Regions from separate parts of the Homo sapiens genome. Here region 1 is linked to region 2. The links are contacts of gene promoters, found by promoter capture Hi-C in blood cells and fetal thymus (Javierre and others, 2016). All regions are on one chromosome and are shown on one strand. The core of a region is centred on a gene start or on the middle of the fragment in contact, and the rest is flanking DNA. Distances in the headings are between cores, read along the strand shown.

Evidence for each region. The method cuts DNA at HindIII sites, captures the fragments that hold promoters and counts their contacts. A CHiCAGO score of 5 or more calls a contact.
Region 1: a contact is called between a fragment that was not itself captured here and the fragment with the promoter of RNF122 in region 2, in 1 of 17 cell types (M0 macrophages). The highest score is 5.7, in M0 macrophages.

What each region holds. Positions count from the first base shown.
Region 1 is chr8:17,251,162-17,254,155 of GRCh38, forward strand. The region is part of intron 1 of VPS37A (VPS37A subunit of ESCRT-I); the gene reads left to right. Among named protein-coding and RNA genes, the nearest start is that of VPS37A, 5.7 kb to the left of the region's middle. The HindIII fragment of the contact is 1,604 bases long and covers 805-2,408 here.
Region 2 is chr8:33,565,628-33,568,559 of GRCh38, forward strand. RNF122 (ring finger protein 122) reads right to left here and starts at 1,501. Exons shown (of 6, transcript NM_024787.3): 1 at 1,072-1,501. The coding sequence starts at 1,096. RefSeq lists silencers at 876-925, 1,066-1,115, 1,146-1,215, 1,266-1,385. The HindIII fragment of the contact is 8,620 bases long and covers 1-2,463 here.

The DNA.
Region 1 (2,994 bases), core at 357-2,856, about 16 Mb before region 2:
TGATGGTCTCATCACCCTTCCCCCCAAGTTACTGTGGAAGCAGGACTCTTGGTTAGTGGGAGTTGGAGGGGAAGTCTGCTGGGGAGCTGCTCAAAATGTTTTCTCAGCAATAGTAACAAATGACTGGGAGGAAGAAATGTCTCATGTTTTGGATATTTTTATGTGAGACAACCCTGATCCTCCAATTCCTATCTGTAAAATCAGCAATTGTGATTCCTGTCATGCAGGATTTTTGATAACTAAAAAATATATGTAAGACATTTGGAAGAGTATCTAGCACATAGTAGGCATAGGACGAATTACATTCCTTCTTTCTACTGCATAGAATCAGTGTGCTTGAATCTTTGCCTCTTAGCCTATAAGCTTCTAGCCAGCTTATTGTTTGTAGATCTCTCATAAGCTTACCTACAACTTATCTGTCTCTGGCAGAACTACTTCTGACTTTCCATTTAGAAAGCAAGTCCATTCCAGACAGTTAGTTTCTTCATAAAATTAGGCATGATGCAGGTAAATAACCTAAATTATTATCTTGCACACAGGAGATGTAAACAGCAATTGTTACTGTATTTTGTTCTTGTCCCTATCTTTAAAATAGTAGTGCCATTCTCCCTAGTCTTTAAAATTTGTTTTAATATTTTCTTTTGCTGCCAGTCTGCGGATTCCGTTGTTCTGATTGCCTAAATGTTTAGCCTTAAAACTTCTTGTAGAGTCAGCTCTTGTATAGTTCTCCCCCACAGCTGCTAAGCTTAACGTTTTGATCACAGCTATAAGACTTTGTCCCCCTATCTCATGGGATTCTGAGTAAGCTTAAATTCCATGCTCTTGTTTCTATAGAATTCATTCTCAGCTCATGAGGACTCACACACAAACTTGGTAACACAAGAGATATTGTAATGAAGGGATGTGTATGTCTGTGTTTCAACCCGTCGCATGTTATATATTTTTATGAAAAGCATTTATTATCAACAGTCAAAATTTGCAATTTTTGTATTAAAATTTCCAGGTTTCCTTTTTATTTATTTATTTTTTGAGACAGGGTCTCACTCTGTTACCCAGGCTAGAGTGCAGTGGCACGATCACAGCTTACCGCAGCAATCCTCCCACCTCAGCTTCCCAAGTAGCTGGAACTACAGGCACATGCCATCATGCCTGGCTCATAAGTTTAATTACTTTTGTTGTTGTTGTTGTTGTTTTGGTAGAGATGGGGTTTTGCTATGTTGCCCAGGCTTGTCTCTCAAACTCCTGGGCCCAAGCACTCTGCCTGGCTTGGCCTCCCAAAGTGCTAGGATGACAGGCATGAGCTGCCACACCCAGCCCAATTTTTCTTTATTTAATAGACTTTATTTTTAGTGTAGTTTTATGTTCACAGCAAAATTAAAAGGCAGAAGATTTCCCCTATGTCCCCTGTCGTCTCTAACTCTTCTTTTAAAATGGAAAATCTGGAAAGATTGGTTTCCACATAGCAACATTTGCTTCAAGCTGAAGAGTAGCTGTCTGCTTTGCTGGGCTACCCACTACCCATTTCACTAGTTTGCAATTCACTCCCTGTTGGACTACAAGGAGCTGCCTTCATTCATGTGTGTTACCTCGCTGGTGTAGTTATTTGATAGGAAAACTTCTTTATGGAAGGAAATAACATTAACTTGTAATAAAAAATTCTACAAGCATCTGTTATGCCTTAGCCCATTGAAGCTACAGAAATCTCCAAAATATCAACATTTTGACTGTGTAAATGCACTTTGAGCTCTATATAGTAAACTTTAAAATTATGCGTATCAATCCTGTAATTAAGTTAAAACTTTGACACATTAAATTATATTGTCTATTTGTAACCAGTGATTAAGACGTATAATTGCAGAGCGTATGACGCAATAAAGCATGGTACCATTTAAGAAATATCATACAGCTCAAGTGCTCAGTTAATTTTCTCATTAGAAATATTAGTCCGTTACTGCTTTAAAAAAAAGTTATGATAAGGCAGTCATTTCTCCATTGCTAGTTAAATCAGCTACATCTGCCCCTCCCCCCAACCTGAACTCCTTCCAAACCATTTCTGCTGTTTGCTCACCTAAGCCGAAAACCTGTGCCGTCTTCCATTTCCATTCAGTCTTCCATGTCTACTACCACAAGGTTCTAACAGTTCTCTCTGCCTCCAGCCTTTTTCCCTCTGCCTTTTCTTCCACATTGCTGCCAGAGTAATCTTTCTAAAATTCAAATTTGACCATGTCACTCCTTTCAGTAGTTTCCTAACTCTTGTCAAAAAAGGCCAGCCACCTTAACTTGATTCCTGGTTGTCACAGAAGATGGTGATGTGACTGGTGGAAAGATATCAACAAACAGAATGTAACGTTTCATATATGGCAAAGGCTATGGAGACTTTTGGAGAACTTGTGTTATTTTGTATCTGAAGCTTTTCTGATAGGGCTTCTCCATTTAAAATGTACACTGTATTTCCCTGATTTACTTTTCTGAGTATTAACTCTTTTAAATGTAACTCAGATATTATTTTTTCCAGAAGACCCCACTGCCGCTAGGTTAGGTGCTTTCTTCTGTGTTTTCATAGCTCTTTGTACATCTCAGTCATTATCATGTGTTCTATTAAAAAAATGTGAAATAAGTGCTCCATGTTAACACAGATTTCGAAAACAAACACAATTTACTTTGGAATTTCTCAAAATCTTTAATGTGCTAAAGTGGATCAGCATTCTCCAAGAGACAGCTATAGTATGAAGGATTTTCCAAACAACACTGAACCATTTTTGGAGCTATTTGTTTTAAATTTCCAGTTTCTTGCTTTTTCATTCTTATATCAGTTGTGTAAGTATGTGTGTGTGTGCAAGTGCTGTTGTCTTTTGTTGTTCTGATATTACATAAATTTATAGTCATCTTGTCTTTGCTCTTGAGTTTTTTATGTTTCAATTTGTTGAATTTGGTGCACAGTTTGCGTGATTTTTTTTTATTCAAACCTTTATGACGTTCTCGTTTCTGTATTTG
Region 2 (2,932 bases), core at 251-2,750:
GAACCTCCAAAAAGCCTCAGGTGAAATGAACTAACTTAGAAGCATCACCCAGGCCTGGGGAGAAATGGGGCGAGGGGTTGTCGCGTCTGGAGGTGTGGCCTTCACTTGGGCTCAGGAGCAGACACCCTAATCTGGCCTTGTGGCCAGAAACACGGCTCCCGCCAGGCCAGCCTCGCACCCCAGGGACAGCCGGGCGCGGAGCTCTCTGCGAGGGTTTATCAACTCAGGAAAACGGCTTTTTTTTAGATGGAGTTTCGCTCTTGTTGCCCAGGCTGGAGTGTAATGGCACGATCTAGGCTCACTGCAATCTCCGCCTCCTGGGTTCAAGCGATTCTCCTGCCTCAGCCTCCCAAGTAGCTGGGCTTACAGGCATGCGCCACCACTCCCGGCTAATTTTGTATTTTTAGTAGAGACGGAGTTTCTCCATGTTGGTTAGGCTGGTCTCGAACTCCCGACTTCAGGTGATCCGCCCGCCTCGGCCTCCCAAAGTGCTGGGATTACAGGCGTGAGCCACCGCGCCTGGCCGAAAGCGACTCTTTAATCCAGTCTTCCGCAAGCACCCAAGCCACGCCAGCAGCCCGTGGGAAACCAACAAAGCCAGAGGAAGCTACCCCCGCGCCCAGTCCCGCACGCTGCACGGTATACATATTTACAATAGCCTGCAAAGTTTCAGGCCGGGAACTTGAGCTCCCTCTAGGAGATCCCAGCCCGAGTGCGGATTTAATTCTCCTCCAACAACCACAACAAAGAACAGAGTTTGAGCGCACAAAGGCAGGGGAAGGGGGTAGAAGAGCCGGGCCGCCACACAAAGGCCGGGAACCCCTCGGCTCCCACGCCCCCGGCCCGCCGCCAGTCCGGAGGCCCCTTCCAGGCTCTGGAGTGAAACCTGGATAGTTTCAAATTCCGCGCTGTGCAGAGCAGAGTGGGGCGCCAAGACGCCTTCTCGACTGTCCCATTTCAGGAGAAACTTGGTTCCCGAGGGAGGACCAGCGCGCTGCTGTCCGACCTCGCACCCCGCGCCGCGGCTCCCACCAGCCCCACGTAGGCTCGGCCCTCGCCCCGGGGACTCACCGTTACACCACTGGAATGGGTGCATCAATGAAGTCGCGGTTGGCTTCCTCGGGCGAACGGACGCAGGCGGGGTGCCAGGAGGGCGGGGTGGGAGCACTAGCGGCGTGAGGGGCCGCAGGCGGGGTCGGGGCAGCGCGCTGCAGCCGCCCTGCTGGAGAAGCCGAACTCCCTCCGGAGTGGGGGGCTTTGACGAGGCTGGTGTTCAGCCCAACAAAGAGGGACGAGGAGGAAACAAACAAAGTCCCGCGGAGCACAGCCGCACGGAGCGCACGCGCCAAGGGCCCCGGGCTGGGGGAATGTGGGGCGCCGCGGGGCGGGGGTGCCCGGGCTGCAGAAGCCCTCGGCCGGGGGAGGAGGGAAAAACCTTTGCCGGAGGCTCGGATCGGGTTCAGCGGCGCAGAGGTGAGCTGGCTGGGGTTCCGAAACTGACACCCGGCGGTGCACACCCCCTCCCTTTTACTTCCCCCACCAGTCCCCAGGAAAACTCCGCCCCTTGTTCGTCACCCTCCCTCCGACCAATCGGAGCCTTTCTCCTGCCCCCGGCTATTATTTGCAGGCCCAGCCTCCCTTCCCTGGAAGCCGGGAGGATCTTCGCACGGTGGGCGCCTCCCACTTAGTCTTCCCAGGCCTGGGGAAACTTCGGTCTGCAGAGAATGGAGCGGCGACGAGCGATGCCCCGGAGTGGGGGCCTGCCTTTTGCCCAGGGACACCAAGGCAAAGGAACAATTACTGCCACATTGTTTTCCGCCTACAGATCTGTTATTTATTTACTTATGTATTTGGAGGCAGAGTCTGCCTCTATCGCCAAGGCTGGAGTGCAGCGGCGCGATCTCAGCTCACTGCAACCTCTGCCTCTCGGGTTCAGGTGATTCTCCTGCCTCAGCCTCCTGAGTAGCTGGGATTACAGGCGCTTACCACCATGCCCAGATAATTTTTGTATTTTTAATAGCGACGGGGTTTCGCCATGTTGGACAGGCTGTTCTCGAACTCCTGGCCTCAAGTGATCCTCCTGCTTCAGCCTTCCAAAGTGCTGGGATTATAGGCGTGAGCCACCGCTCCCGGCCCTCTTTTTCTTTTTTGAGTTAGAGTCTTGCTCTGTCACTCAGCTGGAGTGCAGCGGTGCAATAATAGCTTACTGCAGCCTCCAACTTCTGGGCCCAAGCAGTCCTGCCACCTTAGCCTCCCAAGAAACTGGGACCACAGGTGCCTGCCACCAAGCCCAGCTACTTTTTAATTGTTTTGTATAGATGAGTGGCCTCACTATGTTGCTCAGGCTGGTCTCGAACTCCTGGACTCAAGTGATCCTCCCGCCTGAGCCTCCCAGATTGCTGGGATTACAGGCATGAGCCATGGCACCCAGGACATTTCATTTCTTAATTGGATAATTGCAAAAGCTTCCTAACTGGCCATTCTGATTCTAGTCTATAGCTCAGACTTCAGAGCCTACAAGAATCACTCCTATGTTTGAGATGTAACATGCAGATTCCCAGGCCTTGAACCCAGAGATTCTGATTCAATAAAGGGTGGACCCAGAAATTTTCATTTTAATGTGCCTTGTCTTCCCCACCCCTCAAATTCTCATGCGGCTATTGAAAGAAACAGTGCTCTGATTTCACTCTCAAGTCCATCCCTTCTGGTCACAATTATCTCTGTAAAATGTAAATCTGAACATTTCTTTGCTTGATAACGTTTGTTGGTCTCCAGTGTTTACTGAATAAAGTTCTGTAAACTAGAGTGTGGCATTCAAAATGTTTCAGTCTAGACTCACTCCTATAATCTCAAAACTTCGGGAGGCTGAGGCGGGCAGATTGCTTGAGCTCAAGAGTTTGAGACCATCCTGGGCAACATGGTGAAGCCACCT